2 separate regions of the Homo sapiens genome follow, and region 2 is linked to region 1. The links are contacts of gene promoters, found by promoter capture Hi-C in blood cells and fetal thymus (Javierre and others, 2016). All regions are on one chromosome and are shown on one strand. The core of a region is centred on a gene start or on the middle of the fragment in contact, and the rest is flanking DNA. Distances in the headings are between cores, read along the strand shown. Region 1 holds the start of LMO2 (LIM domain only 2). Region 2 has its middle 25 kb from the start of ABTB2.

Region 1 (2,700 bases), core at 77-2,576:
AATTCAAAGAGAAATAAGACACCTCCTTGCAAAGTGAGAAGGCAGAACTAGATTCAGATTCACCTAGATTTCAACTCTTGTGCTCAGGCCACCACCACCACCATGGAAACAATTTTGCTTGACTCTCCCGGCGCAGCCGCGGCAGGCGTGTGTGTTGTCAGACACTGCAGGAAGAGTGATGGCCTGGGTGTTGACAGGCTCCTAATTGGAAGGTAGGAGGTGCCACCAGAGATCAGCTATAAAAGATATCTTTGGACTGGGGTGGGCTGCTAATGCTTGGAAGAGACTTGTGGGTGAGGCCCGGTGAGCTGTCACCTCGGAATTGGGCCTTGCCCAGCAGACAGACATGCATGCGGGGGAGGTAGCTGACAGACAGGGGCGCATGGGGAAGCAGCCATTCCAGAGAACTGCAACAGCAGATTGCAAACCAGGACTTCAGGACTCAGAGGGGGACAAGGAAAGGAGAGCCTATAGTGGCCCCAAAGCCCAGGGTCAGAGGCAGGGCCAGGAGAGCAGCTGACAAGAGCTTTATGGTAAGGACAAAAGAGAAGACAGCCGGAGTCTCCTTTTATTCAGCTCATAAAGACCCAACTTCTGTGCACTTATAACTGTTCAGACCCTGAGGGGTTCAAAAAAAGAACCGTGTTAGGAGAATTCAATATTTAATTAAGAGATGATCAGATCCGTGCACCGAAATTATTGCTGGGTAAGACAATACTGTGTGTGTTACATAGCATTGGAACTTAGGAAAGCTCTTTCCTTGTGTTGTTTAATTTAATCCACTCAACAACCCTGCAAAGTGGGTACCATTGTCCCTGTTTTTTATGAATGAGGGGGTGAGGTGCTGAGAAGCTGTGTACGTTATTTGAGTTTGTCTGGCTAGTCAGTGGCTGAGCCAAGTTCCAATCCAGGTCATGTGAGCCTCTGAACTTTCTGATAAAACCTGCAGACCCCCTTAACTGGGATAATATAGTCATGCATTAAGCAAGAAGGAGAAGTAAATACAGGCTGATGGTGTAGGGGAGAAATTCAAAGGGAGAAGGCCTAGGAGGGAGAGGGAGCTATGTGTGAACAGAACCAAAGATGGCCTCTGGGAATTGGAAGGTCTCTTGGAATTCGTCCAAACTGAGGATCACAAGTCTCCACATTCTGAGTAGGAGGATGAGGGTCTGAGTTAGGATTTGGGTCCTGCAGGGCTTGCTAAGGAATCCCCTGATGGCCTAGGATTCCACGCAGAGCACATCTGGTGTGAGAGAGCTCGCTGCAAGGGTGAAGGCTCCGCCCTATCAGATAGACAACCAGGCCACCAAGAGGCCCAGCCCTCCAAACCCTGGATTTGCAACATCCTCAAAGAACAGCAACGGGCCTTGAGCAGAATTGAGAAGGAAATACCCCCACCTGCCCTCAGCCGTTAAGTGGGCTTTGCTATTCACAAGGGCCTCTGGGTGTCCTGGCAGAGAGGGGAGATGGCACAGGCACCAGGTGCTAGGGTGCCAGGGCCTCCCGAGAAGGAACAGGTGCAAAGCAGGCAATTAGCCCAGAAGGTATCCGTGGGGCAGGCAGCCTAGATCTGATGGGGGAAGCCACCAGGATTACATCATCTGCTGGTGAGTAGGCTTCATTAATTCTCTGATGAATGGACGATTGCAAGGGAACTTTTTTCATCTTCAAGGAGCCAGAAGAAGTGGTGATTAAATTGGTCTTTTAAAATAAAAAGACTCCAAAGGGGTACAAGTCTTCAAGCTTCCCCTGTGGTGTTCCGGGCACTCTGGCTTCTCTTTCGGAGGGAGGAAGAGCATCTATTCATAGGCTGTGACTTGGAGAGGCCCCACGGTGAGTCAGGCGCTTGCTGTGTGAGCCGCTGGTTGCTAATGTCTTCGGGAACTGCTAATTTACCCATCTAATTTGTTCCTGTACACTGGCCACAAAGGGAGACCACTCAATTATTCTGATCCAAAAGAGAGGCTTGTGTTTACCATGATCTCCCCAGCAACTGTGTGAGTGTGTGTGCATGTGTGTGTGTGTGTGTGTGTGTGTGTGTGTGTGTGTGTGTGTTTGCCTAACAACCTTAGGCAATGACGAAGAGGTGGGGCTGCTGCCCTTGTTAGCATTTTCAAACACATTCCAGTTCTGAGTTGAGGGCAAAGATTGTAATGGGGTGCTTCAGAGAAGCCTTGGCTCCCAAGGAGGTTATAACTTCAAAGGGTGTTTTTGAAAAACCAAGGCGGATGAGGAAAGTGGCTACAAGTTCCTTCCATCACAGAGGATCAATGAAGGGGAACAAAGATTTGGGAGCATCTACTTTGTGCCAGGTACTGTGCTTGGGTTTTACACGTCTTCTCTTGTTGACTTTGCATAACTCCCCTTTGAAGCAGATATTACTCCAGGTTCTTGCCGTAATGTTTCAGCTTAAAGAAAACCAACCCATACTTCTTTAGGTTGCCCTGAAAAGGTGAATCTTCTGTGAAGCCTTTTCTGTCTTTATCTGTTAAAATTAATTAAGCTCTTGTTTGTGCTCCCAGAAAATCACTTTAGACCTTAGAAAGATGGCAGCCTCAGTTTTCTCATTTGTAATATAGGGGTACCCATAGGGTCATTGTGAGAAATAATAGAAATAAATCATGGAAGTGCTTGGATAGTAGCTGGTACTTAGCCCTCATCAGTCATCATTGTCATTGTTGTTAAGAGTAATAATAATAA
Region 2 (2,700 bases), core at 127-2,626, 490 kb before region 1:
CTAGATCTAGGGGACAAATAAAAGATGCCCAGCACATGGATCTTGACTGAGATGCTTGCTGCGTTATTATTACACTATACATTTTTTACTGTAAGAGATTATAGTATAAAAAAGAAAAGGGAGAAGAGAAGGTAGAAAGGAAAGAAGGAAAAGGAAGGAGAGAAGGGAAGGAAGGAAGCAAGCAAGGAGGGAGGAAGAAGGGAGGGAAGGAAGGAACTAAAAGAGGAAAAATTAAAAAGAAAGTGAATAGAAAGGAAAGAAAATAAACCCGACCAACTAGCTCCTGCATTATGTACTAGTAAGAATCTGATGGATTTATCAACTGAAAAATAGTAACCAAAAGTCTGAATAAATGGTTGTCATCAAATGTTTTTGTCAAGTCAGTAAAATAATACAGCAATTTTTTTTTTTTTTTAGACGGAGTCTCGCTCTTTCACCCAGGCCGGACTGCGGTGGCGCTATCTCGGCTCACTGCAACCTCTGCCTCCTGGGTTCACGCCATTCTCCTGCCTCAGCCTCCCGAGTAGCTGGGACTACAGGCGCCCGCCACCACGCCCGGCTAATTTTTTGTATTTTTAGTAGAAACAGGGTTTCACCATGTTAACCAGGATGGTCTCGATCTCCTGACCTCGTGATCCACCGCCTCGGCCTCCCAAAGTGTTGGGATTACAGGCGTGAGCCACCGCACCCAGACTAATATAGCATTTTTAATGCTATATATTGCATTTCTTAACCTATGATGAATCTTAGACAATGGTCTCCATTTTTTAGTCTTATTGTCTTTCTTTTTAAAGTCACCAGAAATTAAGTAAAGGACGTATAACATGCTCAGAAATGCTATGAACAGGTACCCACAATTGGGTGGGTCTTTGATTTTGTTTGCCTTCCTGTAGTGTTGGAACCGTACTTCAATGTTCTGGGTAAAACTAGAGCCAGGAAAATGAACTATGCGCACATAGTTCATTTTGAAATGCAAAATGCAAAATGAAAATGTGCACATCAATTAGGAATGCTTTGGCTGAAAGTGAAAGACAATCTGGCTAACTGTGGTTTAACACATAGGGATTATTTTTCTACCTATTAAAAAAGTGATATAGGCAACTGCTGGCGTTGATTCAGTGACCCCATAATTTCAGGTCCAGCATCTCTGCAGTTCTTCTGTTCTCTTCCTCCCAATCACAAATGACCAAGACATCACCAAGTATAAAGATTAAGGCACCAGAGGCAGGTAGGAGGAGGCATTGCAAGGTACAAGTGTCAACATTTTGCTTTTATCAGAAAAGCAAAAGCTTTCTCCACAAACCACCAACAGACCACTGCCCACATCTCATGGTCTAGAACTGTGCCACCCCTAGCTGCAAGGAGGCTGGGAAAGTGAATATTTAGTTTTCTCAGCCTTTATAGGGAAGTTGGCAAGAGATAAGAAAACTGGAAACAGCTATTAGTGAAGCCAGCTAAGCTTTAATGCCTAAAATATTCTCCCTGCAACGTCCAAAATATCTACCATGAAAATGAATTCTTTGGCATTAAAAATAACTTTTAGAAGGCATCTATTTACATATACATGTTTCCTGGAAGGATGATGTAGCAACACACTGGTGCCCATTATCATTTTAGCATTAATTTATTTCTGAAGATTTGCTAGTATTTGCCTAGTACAAAGCCAAGTGTTAAGAGAATAAGATAACTAGGCTTCAACATAGTAAAAATATGCCAGGAAAATTCCAGACACCATCAGTGAACCTTATTAGTTTCAATAAGCAGGTGAAGGCATTACATTTAGCAAGTAGGCAGGGCAGGAAACACTAAAATACATTTCACCCACTGCATTATGTCTAGGATCAGCCTCAAAGCCAGCTCCTGAAGGGCATAGCAGATTGCATCTAATATGTGCCATCAAAACTGGCCCACTACTCCTTTTCAGCCTATCCGGAATCAAGCAGGCATGAAAAATGGACATCATGGAGATGTGATGACAGAAGGCACATACCTAGATTTCTTTCCTCATAGTACAGTGGTTGTTAAGAGCACAGAGTCTAGAACTAGCTAGATTCTTGGGCTCCAAATCCTGGCTCTACTAGCTCTATGACCTTATCAAGTTACTGACCATCACTGTGCTTTGGTTGCCTCATCAGTGGAAAAGATCATAGGGTTGTGATGAGAAAAACAAGTTAATAAATGTAAATAAATATGCATGGTGCATAGTAGGTACTATATAAGAGCTGGCTGCAAAAAATAAGGCCTTTCTCCTGTGATCCCATTAGTATTATGCTTTCATATTTATATGTTTTTGGTAAAGTCTTCCTTTTCTTCTTTTTCTTATATAAGAACAACATAGTTTCACTACAAAGAACTCAGAAAGGACAGGGAAGCAAAATAAACTTTTTCAAGAAAAAAAAATCCACAATCCCTTTCCTCAAGGGAAAACCACTACTAACATATCATATTTCACCCATCTATGTATTTTTATTTTTGCAATAGTGTTCTGTAACACATCTTTTTAAAATTTGACAATATATTATGGACATCTTCCACATCTAGAAATATATTTCTACAGTGTCTTTTTAGTTATCACAAAGTATTCTGTTAAATGAGTATTTCATACTTTACCTTGCCAATTTTCTGCTGTTGAATATTGGCATTATTTCTGTTTTTGTTTGGTTGTTTTTTGTTTGTTTGTTTGTTTTTGTTATTACAGAT

Evidence for each region. The method cuts DNA at HindIII sites, captures the fragments that hold promoters and counts their contacts. A CHiCAGO score of 5 or more calls a contact.
Region 2: a contact is called between a fragment that was not itself captured here and the fragment with the promoter of LMO2 in region 1, in 2 of 17 cell types (activated CD4 T cells and naive CD8 T cells). The highest score is 6.1, in activated CD4 T cells.

Annotation. Positions count from the first base shown.
Region 1 is chr11:33,890,702-33,893,401 of GRCh38, reverse strand. It overlaps LMO2 (LIM domain only 2), which reads left to right and starts at 1,326. Exons shown (of 6, transcript NM_005574.4): 1 at 1,326-1,607. RefSeq lists an enhancer at 1,761-1,870. The HindIII fragment of the contact is 4,099 bases long and covers 1-1,745 here.
Region 2 is chr11:34,381,353-34,384,052 of GRCh38, reverse strand. No RefSeq gene overlaps it. Among named protein-coding and RNA genes, the nearest start is that of ABTB2, 25 kb to the right of the region's middle. The HindIII fragment of the contact is 170 bases long and covers 1,292-1,461 here.